Regions from separate parts of the Homo sapiens genome. Here region 2 is linked to region 1. The links are contacts of gene promoters, found by promoter capture Hi-C in human tissues and cell types (Jung and others, 2019). All regions are on one chromosome and are shown on one strand. Each heading gives the region's core, a stretch centred on a gene start or on the middle of the fragment in contact. The rest is flanking DNA. Distances are from core to core; before and after follow the strand shown.

Region 1 (3,650 bases), core at 956-3,455:
CCCCAAAACTAAGATCAGGCAACCATGTGCTGGAGCCCCACCGCACCTGCAGCTGCCCCCTTACTGGAGACAGGCTTAGCAGCACACAGCTCCCACCCAGCCCTCCTGTCCACCCGCCTCCTGCACTCAGGCTTCCTGACTGGTCCCTGCTGGCAGTGGAGTTTACACCACAGAACTGTACCTCCTCTTGCTGACATTTAGGTCAGTTCCAGTTCAGCCCATTCTGTCTTCCTCGGAACCCAAACAGAGAGCTCGCAGCCCTCTGACCACACAGTGCTCCTTCACCTCTCAGAGGACGCACAGTGCACCAGGCTGCAACACAAAGAGAACGGTTCGGATATCGTTGCGGCCTTGGATTAGTTCCAAAATGTCAAGCGGGCCTCTTAATGAGGGGTCTCTATTCTTGATGTTATGGCAGTGGAGCTACAGGGCAGGGAGAAGCCCTGAGTTAAAGAACTCACCTGTGTGCCATCAGGAAACCACGTGAAAAGCACTACCAAGGCAAAAGATCTGAGTTCAATCTGGGCTGCTTACCTAGCTGGGCAAGAATGCTTCATCTCTCCTGAGCCTCAGTTTCCTCACCTATCAAATGGGCTAGTAGAGCTTCACAAGGTTGTTGTGTGAATGAAAAAGTGTACATGAAAGTGCTTGTAAGCACCTGACAAGTATAAAATAAGACGGGTGTGGAGGAGGACCGGAAGAGAGGTGCTCTGAAAGAAGTAACAGAAATGGGTGCCATGCATTCCAGTTACAGTTGAAGAGCCTCTGTCTCTATGACCTGAGGTCCCTCCCACCTCCTCTTTCTGCCCTGAGGGCCTGAAAAATGCCTCTCTTCACTTGCTCCCAGTGGCTGCAGTAAAATAGATTATAAGGGAAAACCGCCTATTCCCCGAAGCAGTAGCTCTCCAGAACTCATCTGGAGGTCCAGGTCACTAGGGGAGAAGAAGCCAGGCTGAATCCACGCCTGGCTCCACGGAGGAGCCACAAGGATGGCCATCCTCCCCCAGCCCCTAGGACGCTGAGACAGGCTCACCGGAGGTTATCGGTGTCTCCATTGGACAATCAAGGAACTGAGGTTCTTTCCCTCCAAAACCACACACCTCCTCACGGCTTCACCGGGAGGTGGATCAAATGACCTGCTCTATGAAAGCACTTTGCAAAAGGGATGAAAGTACAATAACAAGCAAAAATAGCCTCCAAGATGTGATATAAAGCGATGCCAATGCGCAGCTATGTGGTTACTGGTGAGCAGACCTCCGGGAAGCACAGGACACACCCCACTTACCCAACAGACGTTCTCATCCCATATGCCTTTGTCCAAAGGTTGCACGGGGGTTAAGCTTGGCCCAGAAGGCGCCGAGGGCTGGTCGAGTTCTCCCCTTTCCAAGAACCAGCCGAATCTCCCTCCCGCAGATCTGAGGGGCAGAGCCGCCCATCCGGCGGCGCCGGGCCACTTCTGGGCGCGCCACCCGCCGCCCGCCCAGGCTCGGGGAGACAGCGCCCTGAGTCCCGGCTGGGAGAAGGCTGCTCACCTGGTCCTCACGGATTCCAGCCGAGGGGCGTGACCGCTTCTCCCCACACCCTTTGCCCTGAGCGGGACGTGGAGTCTCTTGGCCCCAGGGGGCGCGGCCCGCATCGGCAGAGTCCCGGGCACGCACCTACGCCCTCCCATCCAGCGGACTGTTTAGGGGCTTCGGGCGGCGCCGGAGAAACGGGGCGGGCTGCACCCAGCAGAATGGGGTGGGCCTCTCAGAAGCCCCAGGCCGCAGGGGAGGGGCGCGCCCCCAACATCTTCCCACAAAGAGCTCCAGCTCTCCAAAGCAAGGCGCAGTGCGGGCGGAGGACAGCCCTGACCTCCGAGAGGGGCGCGGGGAGAAAGGGAGCGCCGTGGGGGCGGGGACCCTTCCCGGCCCGCGCCCTGAGCCCTCAGCCTCGCACAATGAGTTTAGCCTGGCTCCATCCGGACCGCCCTCTCCGCCCGGGCCCGCGCCCGCGCCCCACGCCGGGTGCTCACCGAGGAGCGGCCGCCGCGGCAGCTCAGGCCCCGGCCCAGCCGCCTCCCCGCCTCGGCCACCGCCGCCGCCGCTTCCTTCCTCCCCGCCGCGCTCCGGGACTGGAGGTTTCGGGTTTCAGCCCACCGAGCCCCGCTTCGCTCCTCCCGCGGGCCAGCCACCAGCACGCGGACCCGGGCGGGCGCAGGCCAAGTAACTTTGCGGCGCCCGCGCCCCGCCCCGCCCCCCCCACGCCCGGCCGGGCCCCTCCGGCCCCCGGAGCCCCGAGCCGCCTCCCCGCGCCCCGCACTGCCCCGCCCCGCCCAGCTCCCGGCGCCCCTCCCCACCCGCGCCCCTTCCTTCGCGTCCGTCCGCCCGCCCTCCCGGCTGCTTCTTTCCCATTTCTTCCCACGAACAGCCTCGGCTGCTGCTCTTTGTCTCGCCCTTACCCTCTCGGCTCGCCCCACTTTTCTCCTGAAAACCTTTGTGGTGCCTAACTCAGGCCTTCCCTGTTCCCGTTCCTCCGCCCCAGTTCCAGCCGCTGGGACGTCGCCTTTTCCATGTCTCTCTCCATCACACAGACACTTTCAGATTCTTCCCGCAGGCTCCGCACAGTCCCATTCTCCTCCTCCAGTCCCGCCGTGGACGATCCTGGTATCGCCTTTGCTGCTCACCTTTCATTCATCCAGCCGACGGGCACGAGCATCCATCTGCCTTCTGCCAGGCTCTGTCCCGGGCTCTGTTAATACCACAGTGAATTCGTCCCGAAGCCAGCCCCGGGGAGTGGGGAGTGGACGTAAACAGGTCTTCACACTGCTGCCCTGCACTCCCTCGGAACCAAAAGGCCAGGGAGCAGTCATCACAAAACAAAGAGCGGGCGCTGTCAGCTCGGGGGACGGAACAGTTCCTTCTCAGAATGTTTGTTTTCCCTTCCTCACTCCCCACTTTGCCTGCCTGTCTCCAGACTCCTACGTTTTCTATGCAGCAGTCTTAATAAGGGGATGAAAAGTTGAAGCACAGAGTAGAACTGCTAAAAAGGGAAAGAAGGAAGGACAAACAGGGCAGCAAAATAATCAGGTAAGAAGTTACAAAGCCCAGTTCACTAAACTCCAGAAAAAAAAAAACAAACCCTGATGCTGTGCTTAGAGCAGGATTCACATTCCTCTGAAATCCATCTGCTTTGATAAATACATTAATTATTCCCTTGTCTACAGATTGACACTGTGGGAGATGCTTCCTTAATATTATTGGGCCACTGAGGCACAATTTAGAACAGTAATTTACTGTCTGGCACCTGCCAAACACCCACATTGCTCTGGGGACAAATGGGATAATGGGGAGAAAAAAGTAAATGGGTGCCTTAATATTCCTATGGGATAAATGCTTTATTTGGTCAAAAACTGGAAGCTGACGCTCCACTTAAGAGTCTAGGTCACGCGGCAAGCCAGACACTTGAAGGAGCTTAAAGCTTTCTGTTCTTAATAGTATTTTAGACACTTATTTTGAAATCCCTGATATTTATTTAATTTACACTGACTCAGATGTCGGCTAAGCTCTATGAGCCTGAGGGAGTGAGTTAACCTTCCTCTCAGCTTATTCATATATAAAATGGGGATACTCATACTTTCCTATCTGTAGAGTTGAAAAGGTTAAATGAGG
Region 2 (3,995 bases), core at 348-2,847, 380 kb before region 1:
GACCAGCCTAGGAAATAAAACATTACCAATAGTGTGTACCTTTCACATCCTGCCTCCTCCACCCTGTCCCAGTTGTAACTACTACCCTGAATTTGTATTTAGTGTTCTCTTTTGTTCCTCTCTTCTAGTATGTTTTAAAAGGTCATATTTATGCTTATTAGGAGATATTACAGTATCAGACTCTTGCTGTGTACCAACAAAGAACAAGAGATAGGTCAGAACGCTGTTTAAATAAATTGCTTGATTGTACTCTTTTAAGCAGGAGTTTATAGTGGTAACATCAAAGTGCTTAAAAAAATTCAAAACAAAAGCCTTTTTCAGTTTCAAGGAAAACCTTAACAAGGTGTGTTAAAAAGATAAGGTTTTTAGAGGTTGGGTGAGGTGGCTCACACCTTTAGTCCCAGCACTTTGGGAGGCCAAGGCAGGTGGATCACTTGAGGTCAGGAGTTCAAGACCAGCCTGACCAACATGGTAAAACCCTGTCTCTACTTAAAAAAAATAGAAAAATTATCTAGGCATGGTGGCACGCCCCTGTGGTCCCAGCTATTCAGGAGGCTGAGGCCAGAGAATCACTTGAACCCAGAAGGTGGAGGTTGCAGTGAGTTGAGATCGCTCCACTGCACTCCAGCCTGGGCAACAGAGCAAGATTCTTGTCTCAAAAAAAAAAAAAAAAGATAAGGTTTTTACAAACCAGTATGCTATAAATGGACCCAGTAGTAACATGACATTGAATTGCTTCAACCAGTAACAGCTTCAAGATCCCTGCCTATGTTCCCTGCTGTGAACGTGTTTATTTGTTCCTAATAATACTGCCACAGTGTATTTCAAATTATTTTATGGTATGAGAGTTTGAATTTACTTGGAGTAAGATCATCTCGGCATGTAGTTGGGAGACATTATTTACTCTATTGTTTCAGTAATTCAGAATATTGAAATAGGTCAGTCATGTCAGGAAATAGACTCTTAGGTGAACCATTCTTGAATTTGCCTTTTTCTTTGTGATTGTGATGGATATTGTTTTGTTTTCTATCTTTGCTTTTTTTTTTCTTTCTGAAATGTTCTGGTTGTCCATCCAAATTGTAAGAATATTACATTTTGAATATCCTTTGATTATTGTAAAAATGACCCCTAGTCAGATGATTCCACAGACTTTTTGATTACTTGTCAAATGACTTTGCGGGCTTTTTTCATTTGAATTGATTTCCTATTTTAAGGGTCAGTGTCACTTCATTGCTAAATGATACCTTTGAGCAACATGGTACATTTTAGAAACCTTATTCTCCAGAGTACTCTAAGAGAAGGGTTGTTTGGATTTTATTTGTTTATATTCTTGCCCTTTAAACTCTAGCATAACTCAGCAGGATTCGGTACTCCTTATAGAACCGTTCCCCAGAGAGAAAGTAAGCTCAGCTCTCATTTCCATGTTGAAGTTTGTATGCAAGTTTACATGGAGCTCAGAATCCAAAGTTGGCAGGATATGAAAATGTTTGTATATCATTTAATCTATTTTATTTCATTTCATTTCTGTGTTTTTATTCCCAAAGCAATTGGTTTTATTCAGGAATCAACAGACTTTTTTAAATCCATCTATAAGTTTTTGAACCAAAGCTTTACTACATTTCACAGCCATTTTTGCCACTATGCCATAATTATAAATCCTTGGCCTCAAAGAAACCTATTTAATATCTTATTCAGATTGAGATTCTAGTCTTCAGTGACATGGAATGTAGATTAGAACAATAGTTTCTGTATATCTCAATGGTCTTTACATTTGCATTTTTAGCCATTTTAACTAGCCCCTAAAAACTCTCTTTTATGACTCTGTGGATGAGCTATCTGAATTCAACAATAATTTTACTATGTATTCCCATAATACTCCTAGTCATTTAAAAAAAGGCAGGGGAATGGACAAAGCAAATCATTCCCAATTGTTTAAGAAACCAGTGAACTCATCCCTTGCTTGGACTGCATAGAATACAGCCTGAGAGGGAAACCTGTGATTTAGTTTCTCTCTTTACCCACACAGGAGAACACTTCTGACAAGATGCCATTCGTGCTCACCGTAGTTGGTCAGAAACTGCGGCTCTGTGCTTGGCAAAAGTTAATTTGGATTTTAGATGCTGTGTGCAAGGAAACCATGTGCAGTTTTAAGCAAGGATCTTCACTGAAATTTCTCGCTGCAATCAACTACGCAGAGTGCCCAGCTCTCAGCATTTGACACAGTTGGCCACTCTTCCCTTGTCTCTCATGGCATCGTGATTTCCTGGGATACCTTTGGTCTCTTTGTCCATAGCATTCTCTATCTGGGGTACACTCACAATAGGCAGAGGAAAAACATGGTAACCAGGGTGGCTGCTGCAACATATTTGAGGGGGTCAGGGTAGGCAATGAGGTCCGAGAGGTAGCCAGGAGTTAGCTCATGTAGGACTTTGTAGGCCACTTGAGGACTGGCCTGATCTGGCTGATGGGAAACCCATAGAGGATTTTGAGTAGAAGAGTGATATGATCCAACCTGAATTTTAATGAGATCTCTTTGGCCTCTCTGTGGACTAGTTGCTGTGAAGTGGGGAAGGCTGAAGGAGGCAGACACCAATTAGGAAGCTATCAATACTTAATCCAGGTGAAAGATGACAGTGGCTTGGACCAAGATGGTGACACCAAATGAGGCAGAGAGAGATCAATTTCTAGATAGGTTTCTTTTGTTTTGTTTTGTTTTGTTTTTTGAGACAGAGTCTCGCTCTGTCACCCCGCCCAGAGTGTAGTGGTGTGATCTCAGCTCACTGCAAGCTCCGCCTCCCGGGTTCACGCCATTCTCCTGCCTCAGCCTTCCGATTAGCTGGTACTACAGGCGCCCGCCACCACACCAGCTAATTCTTTTGTATTTTTAGTAGAGACGGGGTTTCACCATGTTAGCCAGGATGGTCTTGATCTCCTGACCTCGGTGTTCCGCCCACTTTGGCCTCCCAAAGTGCTGGGATTACAAACGTGAGCCACCGCACCCGGCCCCTCTAGATAGGTTTCTAAGTAGAGATGACATGTGTAGCTGACAGCTTGGAGGAAAGTTGTGCAAAAGAGAGGAGTCACAAAACAGTCCAGGGTTTTGGTCTCAGCCACTAGAAAACTGGTGTTACCATTTACTGATTTGGAGAAGACCATGGAAAGGAAGTTTGGGGGGTGGGAATCAGGAGTTTAATTTGGACATATTAAATTTGAGATGATGCCAATTACATCCAAGCAAAGTTGAATAGGCTGTGTGTGTGTGTGTGTGTGTGTGTGTGTGTGTGTGTGTGTGTGTGTACAGGTGTCATCAGCATTTGAAACTGAGTGAGGTCACCAAGAGAAGGAATGTTAAATAGATACGCAGTCAGAGAAATGATCTGGGCTCTTAATCATATAGAGGTCAGGAGAACCAGGGAAGGAGCAGTCAATGAGATAAGAGAATCAAGAGGGAGAGGCATTCCAAAAGCCAAACTGTTAAAAAACAAAAAAAAAGGTTTTAGCAGGGAGTAACTTTCAAAGGTTTTAGATAGGGCAATAAGACAAGATTTGAGAATTAACCATGGAGGTCATTGCATTCCTTAACAAAAACAGTTTCTATGGAGTAACGGAGATGAAAGCCTAAATTGGATTTATCCAAGAGAACAGAAGAGGAGAGAAATTGGACACAGTGTGTACAGACAGTTCTTTCAAGATTGATAAAATAAAGGAGGACAAAGGGGCCAGAGCTGCAGGGAGATGCAGGGTCAAGGTTTTTTTTCTCTAAACCTGGGATATAAATATAAATATGTATGTTTATATTGCTGCTGGTGGTAATTCAGTAGTGAGTGAAAAATTCAGAAGAGGGAGAATTGCTGGATCAATAAATGTCCTTAGGTAGGCAAGAGATGAGATGCAATGTGCAGTGGAGAGGTTCATCCTGGAGAGGGATGCAGACAGACACTTTCTACATAGGAGTGCAGGGAAAGCAGAATGGGCACAGATGCAGGGAGGTGGGT

Evidence for each region. Contacts are between HindIII fragments. The study calls those that stand out against the background at their distance.
Region 2: a fragment that was not itself captured here is called in contact with the fragment with the promoter of GPR161 in region 1 in 2 of the 25 tissues and cell types used here (IMR-90 fibroblasts and aorta).

The regions. Positions count from the first base shown.
Region 1 is chr1:168,134,725-168,138,374 of GRCh38, forward strand. It overlaps GPR161 (G protein-coupled receptor 161), which reads right to left and starts at 2,206. Exons shown (of 6, transcript NM_001375883.1): 1 at 2,015-2,206. RefSeq lists silencers at 1,849-2,078, 2,607-2,901. The HindIII fragment of the contact is 4,691 bases long and covers 657-3,650 here.
Region 2 is chr1:167,757,498-167,761,492 of GRCh38, forward strand. All of the region lies in intron 1 of MPZL1 (myelin protein zero like 1), which reads left to right. Among named protein-coding and RNA genes, the nearest start is that of MPZL1, 38 kb to the left of the region's middle. The HindIII fragment of the contact is 7,982 bases long and covers 1-3,995 here.